2 separate regions of the Homo sapiens genome follow, and region 2 is linked to region 1. The links are contacts of gene promoters, found by promoter capture Hi-C in blood cells and fetal thymus (Javierre and others, 2016). All regions are on one chromosome and are shown on one strand. Each heading gives the region's core, a stretch centred on a gene start or on the middle of the fragment in contact. The rest is flanking DNA. Distances are from core to core; before and after follow the strand shown. Region 1 holds the start of ABLIM1 (actin binding LIM protein 1). Region 2 overlaps ABLIM1 (actin binding LIM protein 1).

Evidence for each region. The method cuts DNA at HindIII sites, captures the fragments that hold promoters and counts their contacts. A CHiCAGO score of 5 or more calls a contact.
Region 2: a contact is called between a fragment that was not itself captured here and the fragment with the promoter of ABLIM1 in region 1, in 2 of 17 cell types (non-activated CD4 T cells and naive CD4 T cells). The highest score is 6.0, in non-activated CD4 T cells.

The regions. Positions count from the first base shown.
Region 1 is chr10:114,655,953-114,662,525 of GRCh38, forward strand. It overlaps ABLIM1 (actin binding LIM protein 1), which reads right to left and starts at 2,323. Exons shown (of 23, transcript NM_002313.7): 1 at 2,005-2,323. The coding sequence starts at 2,248. It overlaps LOC124902588 (small nucleolar RNA U13), which reads left to right and starts at 543; the gene lies at 543-642. The HindIII fragment of the contact is 14,035 bases long and covers 1-6,573 here.
Region 2 is chr10:114,467,909-114,474,481 of GRCh38, forward strand. ABLIM1 (actin binding LIM protein 1) reads right to left here. Exons shown (of 23, transcript NM_002313.7): 9 at 5,971-6,048; 10 at 5,069-5,224; 11 at 273-308. Among named protein-coding and RNA genes, the nearest start is that of AFAP1L2, 67 kb to the left of the region's middle. The HindIII fragment of the contact is 2,815 bases long and covers 1,916-4,730 here.

The DNA of each region.
Region 1 (6,573 bases), core at 1,073-3,572:
ACCCACTAGGATGGCTAGAATAAAAAAGTCAGATAAGGCCGGGCGCGGTGGCTCATGCCTATAATCCCACCACTTTGGGAGGTGGAGGCAGGCAGGTCACCTGAGGTCAGGAGTTCCAGACCAGCCTGGCCAACATGGTGAAACCCCATCTCTACTAAAAATACAAAATTAGCCAGGTGTGGTGGCACATGCCGGTAATCCAAACTACTTGGGAGGCTGAGGCAGGAGAATCATTTGAACTCAGGAGGCAGAGGTTGCAGTGAGCCGAGATCACGCCATTACACTCTAGCCTGGGCAACAAAGCAAAACTCCGTCTCAAAAAAAAAAAAAAAAAAAAAAAGGCAGATAATAGCAAGTGTTAGCAAGGATGTGGAGAAACTGGGACCTTAATATGCTGCTGGTGGGAATGTAAAATGGAGTAACTGCTTTGTGAAATAATCTAGAAGTCCTTCAGAAGGTTAGACATAGTTATTATATGACCCAGAAATTCCACACCTAGGTATACACCCAAGAGCCCTGAACATATCATATGTCCACATAAAAACCTGTATATGATGATCCTTTTGATGTGTTCACACACGCGTGTGTGAGGTGAGCCACCCTCGAACCTTGTTATGACATTGGCACATTACCCATCTGACACGAAAAAAGAAAAAAAAACCTTGTATATGGATATGCATAGAGGCATTATTCATAAAATCCAAAAGTTGGAAACATCCCAAATGTCCATCAGCTGGTGTAAGCAGAAACAAATTGTGGAATATCTATACGGTGAAATAGTATTTGGCCATAACAAGGAATAAAGTACTGACACGTGCTACAACATGGGTAAACCCTGAAAACATGCTAAGTGAAAGAAGCCATAAACGAAAGACCACAGATTATAAATTCCATTCACATGAAATATCCAGAATAGGGAAATCTAAGAGGCAGAAAGTAGATTTTGATTTCTTAAGGCTGAGAGATGGGGATGAAGAGGTTGGGGTGGGGAGGCGATAGCTAAAGGGTACAGGGTTTCTTTTTGAGGCAATGAAAATATATATGTAACATATCAGTTGCATACTAAAACTCGCTGAACTATAGACTTTAAATGGATGAATTTTACAGCATATGAATTATAACTCAATAAAGCTGTTGAAAGCTGATTGCAACAAAACAGAACATCTTAACTCCAGTACTTCAGCTAAACTGAATCCAATTCAACTCTGGCTGTCCAAGAATGACGAGGAATGCGTTATGCTTCCTGGCTTATTTGACTTAACTTCATACATTCGTAGGGACCATGGTTAATTGCCTTCTGCTTCCTGTACCAATTCTAGGTCTGACTTTGACAAGGTGTGAGCAGTTGGGTAGGTATCATCTTCATTAACAAAGGCACCATGATAACTTCAAAGTCTGAAAACTCCCAAGTGCAATAACTCTATCCTCAGAGTGGGCCTTCTCCACCTCTTTCCCAGGCAGAGGGATGAGTGACACGTTTTAATGAGCTTCACTGAAAAGAAGCCTCAACAAGTTCTCTCAATATTAAAACACTTTCTTTTTATTTTATTTCTTTTTTAGAACATTTCACAAGACGAGCCCTCCCTACACAGTGACACAATTTGGACCTCAACTTTACTTATCTTTTGCTAGCCTCCATCTCCCCCCTTGAATATTTCCTTTCCATTCATCCTTTGTCATATGAAATAATAACATCTACAGATAGAGATCTTTCTTTTCCATCATACTTCCTATTACTGACAATTATTCATACCAAGTTTGGAAAGAGATACATTTGTTACTGAAGATCATAAAATCCTGGACAAAAATATCCTTGGGATTTAGCTCCGTAGCTACACTTATGTTACATTCTCCATCTCTCCCACCCTCACCCCCATTAATTATATATTAAGGATAGTGTTTCCTTTGAAGAACACATTACAGAAGAATGATCTGGATAGTACTCTCTTAATTACGCCAATCACAAAACACAAAACCATGTCCAGAGAGGGTTATTTTACTTACCAAAAGGATCAACGCTGTTACATACACGCCCACGTGGGCAGTAGTCCTTGGGACAGAGATACAGCAAATGAGTGATAGTGGCACGCCTATGAGCGGTGAAGGAGGTCCCAGAGACCCTCCGGTCCTCAACAATCAGTCTCTTTCTGTTCGAGCCCCTGGCACTGGTTCTCTCAGATGAGGTGACTTTGCTTTTCTCAGAGCTGCACAATTTCCCCAGACACTTTAGACCAAGGAAGGCAGGCATCTTGGCATGGATTTCCAAGCAATGAGAAATGGGGAGTGGGGACCCAAGGAGCGGTGCTGCCCCACAATTCTCTCTGTTCCCCTGGCTCCTTACTGTCTCCTTTTCTCACTGCCCAGCAAAGAAGATTAAGGGAGATGTATTTAAGTGATTACCCTCAAGAGCTTAGGGCACCATATTCTCAGTCAGATGACTAGGTATAAAAACAGCCACTACCAGGAACTCGAGACTTTCAGTCTCAGACATGAATGCATATTTGAAAATCAGATTAATATCCAGAATAAGAGAAAGAATATAACTGCAATATCTAAAAGAATTCTCCTGCAAATACTCCTAGAATATTCAGTATCATCTGGTAAGAGTACTGAGAATAGGGCTAGGGATATATACACATATTTTATATAATCTAAAAATGTCTATCAGAAAAATCCCAGGGTAATAATTCCAAGTTTTCCAGTATTTCAGATCTCACAGGTGGAGGTGGGGAAGGCTCGATAAAGATCCTCAGCTTCAATTCGTGACAAATCCAGCTCTCAGCCATAGTAAACGATCATTTCCTTTCCATTTTCTAGAAGGGGACCCCTCCCCTCAGTACCAGGAAAATCCTTCTGCCTCATTCCATTAAGCCAATGTTTACTGTCGTAATGTTTCATGGGTTTTCTGTGATGGCAGAATCATATGATGGAGACAGAATTAACATGTAGGTAGCTTCAGCTTTACACAAAGTTACAAGCTAGAAGGACCTTCATGGAATTAGTGTATTGATATAAAAAGGACAACCCCAGTAATTATCATTTACTCTTTAACATCCACACAGTAAGATGCAGTACAAAATGTGACCGTCTACAACCATACAAAAGTCCCAAGTCAAAATGAATAAACTCACACTCCTTCTCCTGTCATTGGGCTATTATGTTCTAATATAAATTCCTTTTCATTAAAACCCTAGAATAGAATTATAGAGCTGACAAGGCCATCAAAGGTAATCTAGTCCAGTAGTTCCCAAATATTGCTGTGCATAAGAACCATCTGCAGGTGCGGTTGCTCACGTCTGTAATCCTAGCACTTTGGGAGGCTGAGGTGGGAGGATTGCTTGAGGCCACTTCGAGACCAGCCCTGGCAACATAGCAAGACTCTGTCTCTACAGAAAAAAAAAAAAAAATTAAAACATTGGCCAAGTGTGGTGTCATGCATCTGTAGTCCCAGCTACTCGGGAGGCTGAGGCAGGAGGATTGGTTGAGTCCAGGAGTTTGAGGTTACAGTGAGCTATGATTGTGCCACTGTACTCCTAGGTGACCGGGCAAGACTCTGTCTCAAAACAAAAAATCTGTAGAACTTTTGAAAAATACAAAATATATATATACGGGATTCTTGCACGTAAAGGTCAGGAACTTACATTTCTTTTCTTTTTTTATACTTTAAGTTCTAGGATACATGTGCACAATGTGCAGGTACATATGCATACATGTGCCATGTTGGTGTGCTGCACCCATTAACTCATCATTTACATTTCTAAACATTCTCCCAGACTAGTGCCAGCACTCAGGAAGCACTGATCTACGCCAGCCTTTAAGATGAGGAAGGTGAGTCTCAGAGAAGATGTGACTTTCTCAGGACAATGCAGAGAGCCTAGGGTGGAGCCGGGTCTTCTGCCTCCCATGCTGACTCTTCCTATCCAATAGTCGGGTCCTTCCACAAAGGCCCCAGGCAGATGAAGCAGAGAAAGGAAATTCTTGCTTCTTTTGTTACAAGTTCCTAATCTATTGGCAACACAATTCAAGAACCTGAGAATTCCAATTTGCTAGAATTATTCTATGCCAATGTGAAGCACGGTGGGAATGGAAGAAACAGACGCTGTCTAGAGGCACTCAGACTGAGGTGGACTTGGGGAAAGTGGGAACATGGGACTTCTACCACTACTGAAGTCACACCTCAAAATTTCTGCTCCAAAATTCTGGGAATTAAGCCCAACACCAACCTCCAAAGTCTTCCTCTAAAAACAGTTTACAAAGCAGGTCAAACAATCTGTATGTGTTCTTTTCCCTGTTTGCCTATTTTGAGGAACCTTCAGATATACAATGTAAGATGTTCTATCAATGTTTCTCAAAATGAGGGTAAGGGATAAAAGACTAAACATTAGGTGCAGTGTACACTGCTAGGGTGATGGGTGCACCAAAATCTCAGAAAGCACCACTACAGAACTTACCCATGTCATCAAACATCACCTGATCCCTCCAAAACTATTGAAATTTAAAAAAAGAAAAGAAAAGAAATACAACTGGAAAAAAAAAAAGTGGCATTCATCCATCAAAAAAAAAACCGTATTTCCCAAAATGTGATTTCTGGGCCAATTTGTTTAAGATGGAGATCCCCGAGGGCCACCTCAGCCCTACCAGGTTCTTCTAGAGTGTTTTGTAATAAACATCGTAGTGTGGGAACCCCTGCCTTTCATTGTTAATTCTTTCTTGCTGGGTTTCCTGGAGCTCTGCTCTTTGCAAACTGAGAACCTGAGCAGCTACTTGCTTATATGTGCTTACATGGTCTTTTTGTGAAATATAGATGTGTTTATATAGAGGAACATGATACAGCCACTTTGAAGGCAGGCTCTGGAACACAGTAACAATGCACAAACACAGACTTTGGACAGAAAAGAGACTATTTCCTTCAAACCCAGCATCTTCCTGACCTGGAAAAAAGGTAACTCTTCCATAACAAAGCTGTTCGGCTTTCTTGGTCCCTAAACTCATCAAGCATTGCCCACAAAAACTATTTCCACTGCATTAACTCTACCTCAGTGCTTAGCCATTGTAGCTGCAGAGCATGCACAGAACACTCCTAAATTTTTTTTTTTACAAGTTTACAGATCCATATATTTAGTTCAAGATGCAACTGTCTTCTAAGAGACTGCGAAAAGGAAAAGAAAATAAATTCTTATTCAATAACGGAATTATACGTAAGAATTTTGATACTTTTTTAGGTCAAGATGCAAAGCAAACTACATATGGATCATGAAGACGGCTAATGAGAAAAACAAATGGTTGCTTGCTTTTAAAGACAACCGAACTACATATAAATGTGAGGGGGCTGACTCCATTCTCAGGCAGTGGAGAGGGATGAGAGTTCAGATGCTGGCAGCAGTGACTGCAGACACCTGTGAACTAAGTTCCACTCCCCAAGTGCTCAGAGCTTTTCACTTACCCTCCTCCACATGGCTCCAGTTAAATACCTAGCAGAGGCCAAGCCTCCAGTCTTAAAAATAGACTTGCAGTGGTATCTGCCTGACAGCAACCTCTTCACCCAGGAAAGCACAGTTGGGGAAGACCCTAAAGAAGCACCAGTGGATTCAGGTCTTTCACTGCTGCCTTCTGCCACAGCCCACATAAAACTACAGTCACAGCAATCACAAAGGAGTGCAGTGGGTTTTGTGACCGTTTCTATGGTTCTATGATATGATATCACAATGCACCACATTACAAAGCTAATGATAATTACAAATGTTGAACTTCTGCCCAAGATTTTGCTGGCCTGTGTATCTTATCAGATAGGAAATTCCTAATCTTTCTAGAAGCAGTTCCACTGTACCTACTCAAGCTCTTCTATGATAGACTATGAAAATGAACCATCAGTGGGAAAATTCACCAAGGGGCACTGAGGACACCCAGCCTTTGCATGCTGTAGGAGCTCAATAAACACCTGATGTGATGAGCCCCAGCCCAAAGCCAGGTGTTTTGGGGCTACACAGTGCTCGGCGAACAGATGCCTCAATTACTGCTCTTTCTTCATCAGTCACAGTGATTCTCCACAAATGAACATGGACTTTATTCTATATAGTGATTTAAGTCTTTTTTCTCAGACAAGTATCCCCTCCCTGCTTAAATCATCTGCTAGGATCTACTTGCTTCTCACTAAAGAATAAAATTTTCTCAGAGAGCAAATTGCCACCTTACGATGCCAATATTTCTGGAATTTAGTTTGCTAAGGAAATGTTCTGCAGTTAGCCTGTGGCCTCATCAGTGATAATGGGGTTACTTTTCATTTTTGTTGTTGTTTTTTAATCAAAATGAAAGAACAAAAAGAGCTCAGCATGCCTTCCAAAAACACCTGCAGTTGCTCACAAGTCAGGATGATCTTTGCTGCTAAACAGAACAGATTCAGTGGGAAGGCTGTGAAAAAGGGGTGCAATTGGACTTCCAGACAGTGACGACTCGGCCCATTTGAGGTTCTCCTGCTCAGCAGCGGCTATCCCTGCTCCCTGCTCCCCGTAAGTCCTAAAGTTCAGTCCTTCTGCATGGTCAGCCCTGGGCATCTTCTCTGCAAAGCCCAATGTT
Region 2 (6,573 bases), core at 2,073-4,572, 190 kb before region 1:
GTTCCTGCAGACACTTTGCTTCCACTTACAGGCACAGACACAGATTAAAGTGAGGCCATTTTTACTCCCTGGTCTCCAATTTAAGAGAAATATATTGCTGTGTCTTAGAGTCTCCTCTTTCACGGAGGTAATCCCCAAAGCCACCATAACCCCACATGCAGTTTTTCTGTTCTTTTGTATGTTATGTTCTTTTTCAAAAATCCCAGTCTAGGGAAGGGCCAAGCAATTCTCAAATTCCACCCATTAAAATGATAAAAAGAAATGGTACTTACTTCTGCTGATGGAGTAGGAGACAAAGTCCTCGGAGACTAGAAAAATAAAAGAGAATTTAAAGTCACAATGTTTGTTAACTCTTTGCCGTTTTGTTTGTTTGTTTGTTTGTTTGAGATGGAGTCTCGCTCTGTCGCCCAGGCTGGAGTGCAGTGGCGCAATCTCGGTTTACTGCAATCTCCGCCTCCCAGGTTCAAGCGATTCTCCTGCCTCAGCCTCCCAAGTAGCTGGGACTACAGGCGCCGCCACCACCCCCAGCTACTTTTTTTGTATTTTTAGTAGAGATGGGGTTTCACTGCGTTAGTCAGGATGGTCTCTATCTTCTGACCTCATGATCCGCCCCCCTTAGCCTCCCAAAGTTTTGGGATTACAGGCGTGAGCCACCGCGCCTGGCCTCTTTGCCAGTTTTAATTAGAGTTGTTTATCAGAGTCAGCTGTAAATATTAGCCAACATGTACCTGCCAGCATCCCTCCACATCTCCCTGTCTTCTGATCAGGTACAAATGCATCTGCCATGGGGCTCAGACAGGTAGACTCTGACAAAGTTCCGGGGAGATTCTGGTGCACATCTCTGCCTAAGAACCATGAATAGGCCGGGTGCGGTGGCTCACGTCTGTAATCCCAGCACTTTGGGAGGCTGAGGCTGGCGGACCACAAGGTCAGGAGATCGAGACCATCCTGGCTAACATGGTGAAACCCCGTCTCTACTAAAAACTACAAAAAATTAGCCAGGCGCGGTGGCGGGCGCCTGTAGTCCCAGCTACTTGGGAGGCTGAGGCAGGAGAATGGCGTGAACCCGGAAGGCGAAGCTTGCAGTGAGCCGAGATCACGCCACTGCACTCCAGCCTGGGAGACAGAGCGAGACTCTGTCTCAAAAAAAAAAAAAAAAAAAAAAGAACCATGACTAGATATGATTGTGATACATACTTAGGTGATTAAGCTAGACAAGTTGGAACCATTTCCCTTATATATTCAAACTACGCTCATTTTACTATGATGAGTTACAGCATCTACTGAAACATAGGATCTTGTTCACATGGTTGTTGACTAAATTACAACCACAGCAATCACCATAAAATAGTTTGATAACTAAAATAGGACTTTGGTGACCAGGCATGGGGCATCCTGCCTTGGCTGCATCGCCAATCTCACTATCATTCACCTCGCCAATCTCACTATCATTCACCTCTGGCTTCCATCCTCCTAGGCACACAGGCTTCCTTGGGGCCATCAACAGGCCAAGCTTTCTGTCACCTCAGGGCCTTTGCACTTGCTGTCTCTTCTGCTGCCAGTGCTTTTCACCCAGACACCTGCAGGGCTCATTCCCTGTCAGCGCTGATGTCTCTGCTCAAACCCACTGTCACACAGCATCTCCGTGACCATTCTGTCCAGAGGAGCAACCCAGCCCCTGGTACGCTTTCTCTTTACTCTGCTTCATTTCTCCTCAGAGCCCTACCACTCTGTAAAATTATATTACATATCTGTTTCTTTACTGTCTGTCTCCCACGTGATGCCACAAGCTCCATGAGGGCAAGGACTGTTTGTTTACAACTACATATTCCCAGTGATGACAGCAGCTCCTGGGACACAGTAGTTGCTCAAGTATTTTCCAGATGAATAAAATGTTTACAATTAAAATGCAAAAAGCTTTCAAATAGAAATGAAATTCAAACAGAGCTATGGAGAACACAGCCAGGGGTGGACTTCTCAGTTTTAGAATTTGCCCTTTTCCCCACATTCTATAGTAAGTGGGCGGACTGTCTGTATTCTAAGCCTTCACAAGCTCCAGGGTCTCCTCTGCAGCTACAGCCTGTCTCTAGGGGGTCTCAGCTGGGTGAAGGCTGGTCTCAAGGTCAGGGCCCAGGTCTGCACCTGCACTGACAGCAAGGCCCTGGAGGCACCAATGGCTGCACAGAACTAATCTGACTCTTGCAGTGTTTCTTAAATGGCAATATGTATAAAGGCCAGGTGCGGTGGCTCACACCTGTAATCCCAGCACCTTGTGAGGCCAAGGCGGGTGGATCACTTGAGGTCAGGAGTTCACGACCAGCCTGGCCAACATGGAGAAACCCCAACTCTACTGAAAATACAAAAATTAGCCCAGCATGGTGGCACATGCCCGTAGTCTCAGCTACTTGGGAAGCTGAGGCAGCAGAACTGCTTGAACCTGGGAGGCAGAGGTTGCAGTGAGCCAAGATTGCACCACTACACTCCAGCTGGGTGACAGAGTGAGACTCCACCTCAAAAAAAAAAAAAAAAAAAAAAGGCAATATGTATATGAGGTCTATAAAAGAAGTGTGTTAAACTTTAATGGAATAAATAATAGAACAGCTTGTAAATTTCTCTCAGTTGCAAGATGCAAGTATTGGGAAAGAGTTCACTAATATATCTGATTTCTGATCCCAGGGGCACCCTCTATGCATAGAGAAAACCATGGGACATAATTCCAGGTTATGACAGTAAGTATGCTGATTACGAGAGTAGCCAGCATTTTTCTTAAGCACTTATTATGTGCCCAGTACTGTTCTAATGTAAATAGCTCACTTACTCTTTACAGAAAACTTCTAGCATAGGTATTCTTGTTCTCTATCTTGAGTTTGCAGATAAGGAGATTGAGGTATATAATTTCCCCAAAGTTATGTGGTTAGTCAGCATCGGTCTGGTTTTTCTTTTTTTCTTTTTTTGTGGTGGTGGTTTTTGTTTTGTTTGCTTTGTTTTGTTTTTGAGACAGGGTGTCACTCTATCACCCAGGCCGGAGTACAATGGCATGATCATGGCTCAATGCAGCCTCAACCTCCTGGGCTCAAGTGATCCTCCCATCTCAGCCTCCCAAGTTGCTGGGACTACAGGCGTGTGCCATCATTCCTGGCTAATTTTTGTATTTTTTTTCTGTAGAGATGGAATTTTGGTATGTTGTCCAGGCTGGTCTCAAACTCTTGGTCTCAAGCAATCCACCCACCTTGGCCTTGGCCTCCTAAAGTGCTGGTATTACGGACATGAGTCACCATGTCTGGCAGAGTCTGGTTTTAAATGCAGAGATTTTCACCTCAAAGCCCAAACTCTTGAGTGCTTAATGTTTTACTGCCTTGATGGAGCTGCTGGGAAACGCACACAGACACGTACACTGCACACCATGAACCCCAAATCCTTAACACCATTAAAAAAACTCACATCCCCTTGCTTGTATGGGTTAAACATTAGTAAATTCTCATCCACAGGGTCCAAGGCCAATCTCTATGCACTTTGTTCAGGAACTTCCCCTCGCCTCTTATGCCCTACGAAACTCTGTGGGGTTCAATGGCAACTGACAACCCGGGCCAATGCACCTGCGCTTGAGAGCGGCCGCAAGTGCAGCTACAGCTAAGTGACCACTAGGTGGCACTACATGAAAATGGATATCACTTCCTGCCACAGGGACCTTTTCCACGCAGAGCTATGCTCTGGAATAAAACCCAGATTAGAAAGTAAATAAATAAAAGGAACAATATATATAAAATAAAAAATAAACATAAATATAATTATCAAATAATATTATACATCTGGAATTGAGAACAATTAAACAGAATCACATTTTCATGCCTTTTCTTCTCCAAGACCTCAAAGCACTGTGAGATGCTAGATTGTTTATATTCTGTTTTAACCTTTGTTGAATAGCTGATTTGTCAGCTATTTGTTAACATCTTTGTGGACTAAAATCAGTCTACAGATGATTCTAATTCAAAAAATAAAAGAGAAAAAAATGAGAGTGAGCCGATTGGCCAGGGGAAACGGACTTGGGTAGGAAGCGACCACAGAGAACCTTCAACCCTGAGATGGGACCGGGGAGGGGAGGACCCCAAGGGGCTGAGAGGCTCTGGTCCCGCAGCAGATGGGTCTGCAGGCCGAGTATTAACGAGCCCCAAGAGGACAGGTAGCAACAATGGTAGAAATTGCCACATGCTCAGTATTTCCCCCAAGTCTGGCCTCTGATAATTGCTTTACATAGATTAGCTTGCTTAATCCTCACTAACACCCTATGAGGTAGATTCTATCATCACCCTATCTGTTTTACAGATGAAGAAACTAGGACCATTTTTCTTATTTTTTTAATATATATAGATGAGGTCTCAACTATGTTGTCCAGGGTGGTCTTCAACTCCTGGCCTGAAGCAATCCTCCGGCCCTCAGCCTCCCAAAATGTTGGGATTACAGGTATGAGCACTGTACCTGGTCCAGGAAACTAGCAGCAGAATGGCTGTCACATGGTCAAAGTCAAACAATCGGCATGTGGTGATCCCTGGGTTGAGACCAGGTAATTTGATTCCAGAATGCTGGCTCACACTCCTGTGCTAGACTGTTGCCCCATGCGCTCTACTTTATTTTTTCTTTCACATGCTAACTTTCTTAAGTTGCTGAAAACTGTAATTACCAAAATTTAGGGGGTGTGTTCTCTCTCCTCATGATGCCATGAATATACTTAAAGCTTATCACTAGACTAAGACCCCCAGGAGACCCTCACTCCCTTATTTGCTCTGCCCAGCTCACACAATCCCCACCCCCTCCCCACCTCCCGACAGCTTCCATCCCAGCATGCTAATGTTTAGCTGGTCTTCACTGTTGTTTGATGTGCCATTGTTCTGTTCTCCCACTTCTCATGATGGGCTTCTGAATACCTCAAAGCACCTGGTCTAGAAATCTGCAAATACTAGGCAGACAAAAGACCACCTGATTTACCTGAACTCCAAATGGTAGTTATTACAAATGTGACAAAAGGGAAGGTAAATTGTTGTACAACTCACAACCAGTAGGAATGTATTACCTCTCCAAGGCTCTGTCTCTCCTGTTTGTCATCATAGCCCGAAGTGTAGAAAGGCTCATAGGTAATAAGATCTGGACGTTCAATGTCATAAATTGCCTTGACCTTCGGAATGGCTGCTAAATCCTTGTAATCCAGGATCTCATTGTCTACTTTTGCCTGGCAAAGTTAACCAGAAAGAACAATTACCTTGTAGTCTGACTGCTTTAGGAAACTGTAGTTGGCGCATTTCCTGTTGTTTAAAAAGTGAAGGCCTTAAAATAAACAAAAACCAAAACATCTTGCCTAACACAGTTATACTCTTCAGAAGTTGCCCTTTATACCATATATTAATCATGTTTTTTTAAAAAAGTCACTGAACGCTTAGGAAAAAATCTGTGTAGAATTCATGAAATAGATAAATGTGCAAACCTTAAGGATAATTTCCTGAATTTATGATAGTAAAGGAAAAAGCTCAAACAGATGGTCCAATAATCCTCTCAGATGGCTAAAAACAAGAACTGCATAATTAATAAACTAAATATTTAAATATCTTTGTGGTAGAATTTAGGAACACTCAGTATCAGCTTCATAAAATATATATTTAATCCCCAAATATCTATATGCAATTTAGGTGCAAGAATTTTTTTTTTTGAGACGGAGTCTTAGGTGCAAGAATTTTTTAAGTCCCGCAACATATTACTACATTTTACAGGTCGTCTGATCACTCTGTTGATGGTCACATAAATGTAATTACCTAAAGGTAAAAGTGATTGAGGAGACTGTTCTACAAAAATGAAAATCAGGTCTCATAACAAAAATAGAAATCACTTTGAATCAGTTTTTGTTTTGGATTACCCATTCTGCTATTACAATCCACTAATTTACCTGTCCCAGAAATGTCACTTCCAGAAGTAGATACTTACATAGATAGTATGACCTGGTGAGCCAGGAATACTGGAGCCTGGCCTAGAATAAATACTTTCCGAGGATGTCCTGGTAGGCTGTAAAATAAACAGTGACTTGTAAGACTTCGGACCCTGGCTTCAGAATCTAGACTGTCCTGGGCCCTTAAGCTTTACTAAAAACTCAGCTAGTGAAAAAAAGAAACACTTATCACCTTTTTGAATAAGGTAAAATACAACCTAGAAGGAAAGGTAAATGCAAACTAGTTGTACGATCCAGTTTTGAAAAGGCATGGGGAGGCCTTTCTCTGGCCCTTCCTGCTCCTTGTCCCCTACGAGAATTTCTGGTTTACCTTTGAGCACACCTCAAAGCTTCCCATTTCTCTCCCTCTCTACTGCCGTAGTCCCAGCCCCAGTCACCACCTCCATTCATCCAGATTATTGCAATGGCCTCCCTGTGAGTTTTCTGCCTTCTCCCCTCCCTTCTTCAAATCAAATCCACCTGGCAGGCAATGGATAGAGAGACCTTTTTTTTTTTTTTGAGACGGAGTCTCACTCTGTCGCCCAGGCTGGAGTGCAGTGGTGCGATCTTGGCTCACTGCAAGCTCCGCCTCCCAGGTTCAC